Linked DNA regions of Homo sapiens: regions 1, 3 and 4 are each linked to region 2. Evidence: promoter capture Hi-C in 16 types of primary human blood cells and fetal thymus (Javierre and others, 2016). All regions are on one chromosome and are shown on one strand. The core of a region is centred on a gene start or on the middle of the fragment in contact, and the rest is flanking DNA. Distances in the headings are between cores, read along the strand shown.

The links. Contacts are between HindIII fragments. The CHiCAGO score rates a contact against its expected background, and 5 or more counts as called.
Region 1: a fragment that was not itself captured here is called in contact with the fragment with the promoter of GBP5 in region 2 in 6 of 17 cell types (total CD8 T cells, activated CD4 T cells, naive CD8 T cells and 3 more); the score reaches 10.3 in total CD8 T cells.
Region 3: a contact is called between a fragment that was not itself captured here and the fragment with the promoter of GBP5 in region 2, in 1 of 17 cell types (total CD8 T cells). The highest score is 5.2, in total CD8 T cells.
Region 4: a fragment that was not itself captured here is called in contact with the fragment with the promoter of GBP5 in region 2 in 1 of 17 cell types (non-activated CD4 T cells); the score reaches 5.5 in non-activated CD4 T cells.

The regions. Positions count from the first base shown.
Region 1 is chr1:88,966,530-88,969,229 of GRCh38, forward strand. KYAT3 (kynurenine aminotransferase 3) reads right to left here. Exons shown (of 14, transcript NM_001008661.3): 4 at 2,141-2,285. Among named protein-coding and RNA genes, the nearest start is that of KYAT3, 25 kb to the right of the region's middle. The HindIII fragment of the contact is 6,056 bases long and covers 1-2,700 here.
Region 2 is chr1:89,271,515-89,274,473 of GRCh38, forward strand. GBP5 (guanylate binding protein 5) reads right to left here and starts at 1,346. Exons shown (of 12, transcript NM_052942.5): 1 at 938-1,346. It also overlaps the pseudogene LOC100421401. The HindIII fragment of the contact is 6,725 bases long and covers 1-2,959 here.
Region 3 is chr1:89,576,722-89,579,741 of GRCh38, forward strand. LRRC8B (leucine rich repeat containing 8 VRAC subunit B) reads left to right here. Exons shown (of 6, transcript NM_001369817.2): 4 at 2,870-2,967. It overlaps LOC128092251, which reads left to right and starts at 2,871. Exons shown (of 1, transcript NM_001414942.1): 1 at 2,871-2,933. The coding sequence starts at 2,871. The coding sequence ends at 2,933. The HindIII fragment of the contact is 1,247 bases long and covers 660-1,906 here.
Region 4 is chr1:89,550,450-89,553,363 of GRCh38, forward strand. All of the region lies in intron 1 of LRRC8B (leucine rich repeat containing 8 VRAC subunit B), which reads left to right. It overlaps LOC124904216 (a long non-coding RNA gene), which reads right to left and starts at 440. Exons shown (of 3, transcript XR_007066214.1): 1 at 411-440; 2 at 35-102. The HindIII fragment of the contact is 957 bases long and covers 805-1,761 here.

The sequences.
Region 1 (2,700 bases), core at 181-2,680, 300 kb before region 2:
TAATATATAGAAATACAACTGATTTTTGTATATTGGCTTTGTGTCCTGTGACCTTGCTCAATTCATTTATTAGTTGTAGTAGGCTTTTTTTTCTTTTAGAATTCCTTAGGATATTCTATGTACACAATCATGTTTTCTGAAAATGAGTTTACATTTTTCTTCTTTCTAATCTATGTATCTTTATATCTCACAGGACTCCAGTACACTGATGAATAACAATGGTCAGAGTGGACATCTTTGCTGTCTTTTCAATCTTACTATATTATGTGCACTACAGGTGTAATCTGTAGGTTTCTCATAGATTCCTTTTATCAGAGTGAGAAAGCTCCATTCTATTTCTAATTGGCTGAAAACTTTTATTATAAATGAGGGTTGAATTTTGTCAGATGCATTTTCTATATATACTACATAAGATGATCTTTTTTTTCTGATAATATAGCATAATTGCAATGATTAATTTTTGGATATTAAAACTAATCCTGCATTCCTATGGTAAACCTTACTTGGTCAGGATGTATTACTTTTTATATCTTTATACACACAGGCACACACACATGCACACACACATATCTGGATTTGATTTGCTAAAATTTCATAATCTTTGTTTCTATGTTCATGAGAGATATTGAACTGGAGTTTTCTTTATTTCTTTCGCTGGCATTTTTTAAATCAGTTTTTGTATCAGGGTAATGCTGAAACTAATTTTATGAGACCAGCATTACCCTGATACAAAACCCCTGATTAAAAGTTCAGACAAAACCATTAGGCATTTCTTTATTTTTCAAATTACAAAAATTGTTGATCAATAAGTAAAAGTTTTTCATCCTGCTCCACTTTCTGAATAAATGTGTGCAGAACTGGTATTATTAGGTTTGTGCAAAAGTAATTGCGGTTTTTGTCATTAAAATTAATGGCAAAACCGCAATTACTTTTGCACTGACCTAATAGTTCTTCCTTAAATACTTGATAGAATTCACTAATAAGCCATCTAGGTATTGAGGTTTGTTTGCAGGAAGACTTTAATTACAAATTCATTTTCTTTCATTGACATAGGGCTAGTTGCATTTTTCATCTCTCCTTGTGTCAGTTTTGGTAATTTGTATCTTTTAAATAATCTGTTCATTTCATCCAAGTTGTCAATGTACTGACATAAAATTATCCATAATATTATCCTATTATTGCTTTCATGTTTGTATGATCAGTAATGATATTCCTTCTTTCATTCTTCATATGGTACTTTGAGTTTTTTCTTTTTTATTGGTCAATCTAGCTAAAACTTTTACTTATTGATCTTTTCAAAGAACCAGCTTTTGGTTTCATTAATTTTCTCTATTGTTGGTTTGTTTCTAGCCTTTCATTATGGATTTGTATAGGCTGGGGAGTGAGTTATGTTGAGTAGGTCTGAGATGGGGGTCTGTAGGGTGGGCCAGGGAGTGAGATCTATGAAGAGCAGGGATTCTCACCAGTGTCAAACCCTGTGACACAGGTAAGTTTCACTGCTTTTCCCTGTGCTATTCCCAAAGCAAAACCCTTCTATGGATTTTTATAGTTAGACCACTATAGAAGACAAAAAACAGGCTTCCTCCTATACCATTCCCCTCCCCATTTCCCACAATATCATAAAAGGAAAAGACAAGTGGTCAGACATATGATAATTGTATGGCTTTTGGCACAACAGATACAAGTCTACAGTTCAAAGGTACGTCTGATCTAGAAAATCTTTGGCTATCCTAGGCATTTCATTACAGAAGGATGGGAGTGAGCTGGCACAAGGAGGAAAAACGTAGCTAGTTGGATATATTAAATAAAGGGTCAGTGCTCAGGCTGCATAAATGTTGATGAGATAGAAAAGACATGTCTCAAGAGAATGTTGTTCCTTATCGTGTTGCCATAGGATCCTATCTTGGAGCAACAGTAAAGTAAGGGCCAAAAGAAAGAAAAGTGTAGAGGGGCTGGAAGTAGGCGAAGGCTCATCTCAGGACATAGGGCAAGGGCAGAAGTTTCTGTGGTTGCTAGGATGGGACAGCTGGTCCCAGAAAGTCACTTATATATGAATGACAGAAGGGCACATGCACACACACAGACACACACCCCAGTATAAAATAAAAGCTCATGGCCCATATGGTCTTGATATACTTACAAAGCCTCGTGTATACTGATTCAGGCTATCGATTGCTGCAATCTTTGATAATTCTTCTTTTACATATGTAGGAGGGGATATATCTGGAAAGCCTTGGCCAAGATTCACAACAGAAGGGTCTGCAGCCAATTTGGTAAATTCAATCCTAAGATTGAAAAAAATACTAATATTAATAAGTTCTACAATTATAAAGTTCGCTTTTTTATATCTTATAGTCTTACCACAAAACAGACAAATAAGACCCTAGTTTAGTCCTATAGGTTTTAAAAAATGAGTTTCCAACAAAAATTTACCAACCACAAATCAGTTTACCAAATAGAATGATGGCTGAATTTATGAACCCAATGTCCCTTACAAACCTCAGTTTCACGCTACCCATATTTTAACCACATATATATATTTTCTCAACAATTCCAGCTGCTGCTAAGTTCTTTCATCAACTATTAGAGAACAGAACTAATAAGAAAAGTTCCTGGATTGGAGGTTAAGTTCCATGAGGGCATTAACATTTGTCCTTTTCTCTGCCATATGTCCAGTGTCCAGCAAAGGGCATGGCACAT
Region 2 (2,959 bases), core at 96-2,595:
AGTGGAAGGATTTCTGAAAGAAAACATCTGTTTTCAGCCATATGATTCTAGTTTGGGTTTTGCGCCTGCATTTGTATATGTAGTTGTTATTGCTTGCTTTTGCTTATTTTGCATAGTTTCTGGTTTGAATTTCAAGGAAAAGGAAAAGGCTCTTATTAAGGATATAAATGGAAATCAAACTAGTACAAAATGCTTGAAGTATGTGTCATGGTAAGAAATTCAAAGGAGAGAATTTCAACGAGTGAACAGTTGCCAGACAGTATTGAGGGATCCAGTTGGGCAACTGTTAAATTAGGTGATTCATAATAGTAAAGGCAATAGAGTAGTAGAAGCAGAACCCAACACAAAAGGGGTTAGTTAAGTGAGTAGATGCCAAGAAACCAACATGAATTAAGTCAGGGCTATTGCTAAAGGAAGAAATCTACTTTCAAACAAAGTACAAGACTATGACTAAAAATACATCACTGTTTTCATGAAACTTCTCTCTGGGCAACATTTTTTTCTTGTCCTTAATGTTTGCAAGCTACTTACATTGCATCATATTCATTGTTCTTTCTCATGAAAATAATAGCTATCATAGTTTTTGAAACTTTCATGCTGAAGTTCGAGTCAGTTTAATCAGATTTTATGAAGGACGAAGGTAACTTAAGTGGAAATTATGATCCTGAATAAGTCATAAAATTGCAAAGGAAGAAAAATAATTTGAAGGCATTTCAAACTCTTAGTTTAGTCACCACACACATTGATGTCTAATTCAGCAAGAGGCAGACACAGCTGGTACTTGATGAATTCTGCTGCCTGTCTGATAAGAATACAATTTATTCTTTACTGAGGTCTGATATACCACATCAGGATAAGCTGCATCCTATCCTTTGTAGAATGTTTCTAAAACCAAATGAATCTTGCAAATCTCTTCCACCTCTTGCCCCAGTCTTACCGTGTCCGGAATTGGTGGGTTCTTGGTCTCACTGACTTCAAGAATGAAGCCGCGGACCCTAGCGTTGAGTGTCACGGTTCTTAAAGGTGGCGTGTCAGGAGTTTGCTCCTTCTGATGTTCGGATGTGTTTGGAGTTTCTTCCTTCTGGTGGGTTCGTGGTCTGGCTGGCTCAGGAGTGAAGCTGCAGACCTTCGCGGTGAGTGTTACAGCTCTTAAGGCTGCGCGTCTGGAGTTGTTTGTTCCTCCTGGTGGGTTCGTGGTCTCGCTGGCTTCAGGAGTGAAGCTGCAGACATTCCCAGTGAGTGTTACAGCTCATAAAGGCAGTGTGGACCCAAAGAGTGAGCAGCAGCAAGATTTATTGCAAAGAGTGAAAGAACAAAGGTTCCACAGCCTGGAGGGTGACCTCAGTGGGTTGCCACTGCTGGCTACTTCTCTTATCTGGCCCCACCCACATCCTGCTGATGGGTCCATTTTACAGAGAGCCGATTGGTCCATTTTACAGAGAGCTGATTGGTCTGTTTTGACAGGGTGCTGATTGGTGTGTTTACAATCCCTGAGCTGGACACAAAAGTTCTTCATGTCCCCACTAGATTAGCTAGATACAGAGTGTGGATTGGCCTATTTACAAACCTTGAGCTAGATACAGAGTGCTGATTGGTGCATTTACAAACCTTGAGGTAGATACAGAGTGCTGATTGGTGCATTTACAATCCCTTAGCTAGACATAAAGATTCTCCAAGTCCCCACCAGATTAAATAGATACAGAGTGCTGATTGGTGTATTTACAATCCCTTAGCTAGACATAAAGATTCTCCAAGTTCCCACTAGACTCAAGAGCCCAGCTGGCTTCACCCAGTGGATCTTGCACCGGGCGGCAGGTGGAGCTGCCTGCCAGTCCTGCTCCATGCACTGGCACTCCTCGGTCCTTGGGCCATGGATGGGACAGGGTGCTGTGGAGCAGGGGTCAGCACAGGTTGGGGAGGCTCAGGCAGCACAGGAACCCATGGCGGGGTGAGGTGGGGAGCGGGAGAGGGGAGGAGGCTCAGGCATGGCAGGCTGCAGGTCCCCAGCCCTGCCCCACCGGGAGGCAGCTAAGGCCCTGCAAGAAGTGGAGCACAGCAGCTGCTGGCCCAGGTGCTAAGCCCCTCACTGCCTGGGGCCGCTCCGAGTGCAGGTCCCTCAGAGCCCAAGCCCACCCAGAACTCGCGCTGGCCCTCAAGCACCGGGCGCAGCCCCAGTTCCCACCCCTGCCTCTCCCTCCACACCTCCCAGCAAGCTGAGGGAGCCAGCTCCGGCCTCGGCCAGCCCAGGAAGGGGCTCCCACAGTGCAGCGGAGGGCTGAAGGGCTCCTCAAGTGCCGCCAGAGTGGGTGCCCAGGCAGAGGAGGCACCGAGAGCGAGGGAGGGCTGCAAGGGCTGCCAGCACGCCGTCACCTCTCATTACCTTGATTATAAAATCGGGAGAAGAGGTATTTTAGAGCTAGTAAGAAAACTGCTTCCATGAGGGACTGGGCACGGTGGCTCACGCCTGTAATCCCAGCATGTTGGGTGGCCGAGGCGGGTGGATGACGAGGTCAGGAGATCTAGACCATCCTGGCTAACACGATGAAACCCCGTCTCTACTAAAAATATACAAAAAATTACCTGGGCATGGTGGCGGGCGCCTGTGGTCCCAGCTACTCGGGAGGCTGAGGCAGGAGAATGGCTTGAACCTGGGAGGCGGAGCTTGCAGTGAGCCGAGACTGCACCACTGCACTTCAGCCTGGGTGACAGAGCGAGACTCTGTCTCAAAAAAAAAAAAAAAAAGAAAAGAAAAGAAAAAAGAAAGCTGCTTCGATGAGAACTTGCTGAGTTCGAACTCTCGTCTTTTACTTTCACTGTGGTGATTTCTCATTTATTTTCTTCACTCAGTCCTGGGGTTTTTGTTCTTCCCACCCCATTTTCCCTGCTCGAAAAAGGAGACAATTTGAATACAAAATATGGAATAACAGAAAGGGGGATTTTTGAAAGTTCTCTGTAGGAA
Region 3 (3,020 bases), core at 33-2,532, 310 kb after region 2:
TTTCTAGGTCTCAAAACTACGACTGAGTTTGGGAAGCATGTTTGTTATTTGAAAATCACTGTACTAACAAGATTTGAAAGAACTACAAAGGGACATAAGGAAACTAGTATATCAAATGTTATTGCCGGTGATCATTTAAGCACTTGAAATATGTTTAATGCTTGTCATTAAATCTCTCAAGAATGGTGAAATGAGTTACTTAGCATAAAGAAAAGGGGCATATTAATCAGAGATACTGATGCATTGTTTCCTAGAGAGAGAACTCAACAAAAGGCGAATTTAAATTTCAGTTAGATATATGTTAGTCCCAAGAAACATCTTAATGGGAAGTAGCACTAAACATTTTGAAGGGATATAAGGTGATTTTTAAATCAATTTTCAATGAGAGTAGTGTAGAGAACCGCTATTTGGAATTGTTCGGCTATAATCCCTGCCTGGGGTCAGAGACAGATCTTTGAAGTAGCGTCCTCTTCTCAGTATATAATGACACTAAATACCATCTGATCATCATTTGTTTATTTTTTCACTTGTTATTTTAGAAATGCTTTCAAAGTAAAATAAGGACTACTGGGAAGTAAAGATGCCTAACTTGAATGTTGATGTTACAGTCTTAGAGACTTTGGAGTAAGATTGTCAAGTGAATTCATGTGTTTTGAAAAAGCTTTTATGACTTCTTAATGAGGTTTAAAAGCTGAAATAATGGGATTAGAACCGTAAAATCCATTACTCTTAACATTTCTTTGGATTGATTTAGTGTGTTTGTATATTAGAAATAGATATTTTATTTGGATTGAATCATCATTGTTTACTAAAATATGGTCTGGAAACAATTTCCTGGACAGACAGTATTAAATGGCATAATGACAAAAGATAGCTATGCTTAAACTCTCTAGTTAAGCACTTCAAATAGGAAAATTATCATCATTTTATACATAGGAATGCTGAGATGTTTTATATATACTTAAATCCAGATGCTATATATTTAAATATTAAGTTTTAGTTCAGTAGAAAATATTTAGTAGGAAAATGTTTAGCTGAGAAAGTAGATTATATGTAACGGAAGACATTACAGAAAACTACATTTGCATCCTTATTCAAACCCAGTTATAATGCAGTTATAACCCAGTTATAATGCAGATATTGGATGAGTTGGGAAAGAGCGCTAATTAGCTTTTTCTTCAGCTTTTGAGAGACCTAAGACTGTGGCGTAGTTAATTGGATTGACTGAGGCCATGTGGTCTGGTGTGCATGAGGTTGGGATTTGAGTATGAGGACCTAAGTTCCAGTTGCAACTTTATTTCTTAGAGGTTTTGTCACCTTGGGCAAGGTTAATTCTTTGGGACTGCCTTAATTTCTATGCATATAAACATAAAGAGTAATACTATTTATTTCAATGGCTTGTTTTAAGTATAAAACAAATTAATGTAAATGAGACATGCTTTGAAGGTAGAAAAACAGATGTTAAATTATTAATAAAGTAGAAAGTATATTTCTAATATTTAAGGAGAACTGTATAAGAAGAATCATGGCTGAGTAACATTTTTGAATTATGCAATAAATTCTTTTCTGGCATGTTACAAATGCAGCCGCTATGGAAGAATATGTAAAATGTTTCACACATCAGATGTCTTTATCATGCTCAGTGCACATAAATGCAGTCATGTGATATATGTTGTAAGACTTTTATAAAGGCTTGTGAATTGTGAATGAGAAATCTTACTCCAGTTGTGCCCTGTAGTTATGAATTAGTGTACAGCTAGGTTCTTATACATACTAACTGTGCTTTCTAACCTGCAAAACAATTTGATGCTGGATGGTGACTAATTGTAAAATAGGCTTTGCACATGACTTGGTAAACCCAAAGTAAGTTTTGGACATGCCCAAATTTTTGATATTTGAAATGACAAGCTTAAAAGATTATTGCTAAAAGTATCTTAAATACAATTTGGGGTCAGTACTCTTAGGAAGATTTGAAGTACTTTTTAAAAAGGATTGTATAATACAAAATCTCCCTAGAAACTTTTTTTTTGAGGTTTCATAGGCACTAAAAGATATAATTTTTACTTTCAATTAAAAACAAATTCTAGCATTTTACAATTTTCTCACAGTTCAAATTATCAATATATATGTAATTTAACTATCACAAATTATTGAACTATAAATGTTACAAATGGCTTTTATTAAACTCTAAATTAAACAAATCTAATATAAAGCCTAAGTATGTTTAATAATAACATAATTTCAAGTAATTTCAGCCATATTTCTGAGCTGTATCTGAAAAAGTATATTAACTTATCACTTTTTCTAATGAGATTGGTAGGCTAAATTTTAGGAGCACTGAGACTTATTTGGATAGATGTTTGGTTTTAAATATGGGTACAGAAATCACTTGGTGTGACAAGCTGTCTGAAAAATGCAAATAAGAACGACTGTGTTTGAGGAATGAGTGAGAGAAATTAACATATGTCGACTACTTAGAAAAGCTGTGTTCATCTAAGTGTTGTAGACACAGAATTTTAAAATATGTTGTGTTTAAATTGCTGTGGGAACTAACCTGTAATTGAAAGGAAGTTCAGGGAGTGAGTATGGTTTAATGAATGTGAGTGGGGCCCTGTAGATACACCTTTGCCAGAATGTGCCCCAGTGTGAAAAGTAAACTGACCTATGAAAATCTAAGCCAGGCACAGTGGCTCACACCTGTAATCCCAGCATTTGAGAGGCCAAGGTGGAAGGATTGCTTGAGGCCCAGAGTGTGAAAATCTATTTGCCATGTCATGTCTTATGACTGAGAGGGCTTCTGGAGACAGTATCTCCAGTTTGTTTGTTTGAATGACTGTAGCTATTTCAAGATATCTATGTTTTCTCATAGAATGAAGACAAACACAGAGATGGTGTGTCTAAGAAACTTCAAAAGGTGTAGACCTCCTGACTGAAGCATATTGGATTTATTTAATTTTTTTCACTGTAGTAAGTATAAATATTTAAAACACTTTTTTTGGTCAATGTTGACTTGTATTTTT
Region 4 (2,914 bases), core at 33-2,532, 280 kb after region 2:
TTAGGTCTGGACCTAAATGGCCTTTTCATCTCACCTTCTTCAGCTTTCCCGCTAGGTTCACTTGCGAGAACAGTACTCAGTCAAACCTTAGCTATGCCAAACCTTTAATAAAGCATAAAAGATTAATTATGTTAATTATTAGCCTTGCTTTGATATGAAAGGGCAAAATTCACCAGTTAGCTCCTTGGTCTTCCACTGAATATTGGAATATTAACTAGCACTTTATAACAGAGCCTTTCACCAGCCCAACTTTACTGCTCTTCCCTTTTCCCAGCTCTCTAGTCAGCCAGAACCCACAGTTCTGCCTAAATTCCTTCATTCCTGGTCAGTCTCACTGATACTACCATGGTCTTCACTCTCACTGCTTCAGCATTGAATGACTGCAGTAGGTTCCTGCCTGGTTTCCTTACCTTCATTTCCCCCGGCCCCCGATCCTGCCCCATTGTATCTCTCATGCCTTACCAGGTTAGTTTTCCTAAAATATTGCTTGCATTCTATTTTAGAATCTATAATTGTTCTCTTTTGTAAGTCAATTCAAGCCATACTCTCATATTCTGGAATCTCCAACCGTAAATGTCCTCACTGCCTCATTTATTTGTGAAGTCGTCCCCCTCTGGCCGTGAAGATCCTCTGCAGCCTCACTGCTCTTCCTCAGGCAACACCCCTCTGCTCTTTCCCTCCCCACTACCCCGCTGGAGATTTTTTTCCTGCTCCAGCCCCTGCATATCCCTAACGGCTCAGAGATACCTTATCTATGTTGCCTTCTCCATTCCCTGAGCTATACCTGTTCATCTTACAAGAGGAAGCTTTGGATGGTTGGAAGAGCACCATGTTTGGTGTCAGTTATAGGATCAAGCTCTTGCTCACCAGCCATGTGTCATCAGCAGCTAATTTTTTTTCTCTCTGAGCTTGTATCCTTATCCTAAAGTCAAGTGTATGATTTAAATGACTATGAAAAAAATGCTCCATAAACTTTTGAGCATTATATAGATGTTCAGAGTTGTTCCACTCCACTATTTAATCCTTCATTTTTTTCCTGTTCACTTTTTGTACAAATTTCTCATTTTCCTAACTTTATAAGTGTTTTAAGGATAGATAGAAAATGAAATATACTTTCTTATCTTATTCAGCCCATACCACAGCAAATGCTCAATGAATTCTCCCTGTCAAGAGAATTCAATGAATATAAATATAAAGGATCAGGCTCTGTGGTGAAAGTGCAGTATTTGATAAAGTGAGTGAGGGAGTAACAAGAAAAGAGGGTCCCCAAAGAAAACGGGACTGACTAGCGGTCTGGCCTGCCTCAATACTTTTGGTGCGTCCACAGACAAGCTCTGAATGAGACCCACTAGCCAGGCTCTTCAACCTCTTAACACCATGGCAATAGAATTGACTCAGTTTCTTAAGTGTGACACTGTTCTTAAAACATAGTAGGCTCTCAAGTGTTTCTAGAATTCACTAGCCACATGATTTGATTATTATATATATTTATATACATGCATGTACCGTGCTAATAGATTTGTCTGTCACTGCTTATTTATTCATAGTTTTTTTTCCTTTTACATTTCATTCTTATACAGAGCAGCAGTATGTCTGCTTTGTCTGCAGAGTAGCACTAATATTCAGATTTGCATTGTGTTTGTGCAGTGTCTAATAGGGGCTACCTGATCACTTGCTGAAGTCATAGGTAGTTCAGGAACTACCTTCTTATTTAGATTGCTAGGACATTTTCATAAGAATATTGTACTGTATATAATACTAAGCTTACTCAAATCCTGCTTAAAATTAAAAATAAGTATAAAGAATAATAATTAGTAAATGAGAATATATTCTGTTTTTGCATGGTGTCTTCTAGCCCCTTCTCCCACACCCAATCTCCTTGGAATAAGAGATATGGTAATGGAGCCCAGAAATTCATGATCCTACTTAGTATCCATCTTAGCAGAAAAATGTAAACCATAGTGAGTTTTGTTTGCTAACACTATCCTTAGACAATAAGAATAATCGTTAGGTACTTATAATAACTCTCACTATGTTTAGGTTACTGAGTCAGTTAAAAGCAGACTAATCAGTAAAATACATTTTCTGGTTTTAGAGAGCTTATAATTTACAATAGATTAAAGGGAATGACAGTAACCACAGAAAAATAATTAAGAGAAATGTGATTTACTTGTTACCTAAGAAGCAAAAGATACATTTTTCTCCAAAGTAAGTCATTAAAGATTGCAATCGTTTATACCAGAGTTGATTTACTAGCATGAAAATGATTGCTTAACCCTGCTCCCTGTGTTCACCAGGCGGGTTGGTGAAAGCTTGTGTTTCAGATGAGCCAGCCTGGCTACAGGAAAAGATATTTGCATAGAAGACTGGGGACACTGCCACACAAGAAAATGAAGAATTATGCTTTTGAAATTCCTTTTATTACTTCCTTGATTAAATTGTTGTTTCCAAGGGAATTGGATTTTCAGATGAAATTTTAATAATGCTTCAGATAATTCCAATTGTGTTCTTTCATTTTACTCTGCTTTCACAATATGATCATATTTGGTTTCACTTCCTGGTTAGTGCACACAAGCCTGTTGCTGGGAAATATTTGAATAAAATGTTTATGAGAGAAGACTATTGTTTCAAAGTAGAGGAAGGCATTTTTGTTTGATTTAGACTTAGTTCATGTAGTAATTTTTATAGAAATAAAATTTCTGACATGTAAATTGGTTAAAAACACTCTTTAAAAATAATTTAAAAGACTTATTTCGCACTGAAATTAAGTTACCTTGTGGTGAAATCATCTCTTCTACAGAAGTGTTTGATTAGGTACCAGTTGTGCAACAAATGAAATGTTTGTCCATAATTAGAGTAATTGTAACTTGATTTTAAACAGAGGTTTGATTGCATGGTGAGTGTCATAATGCCA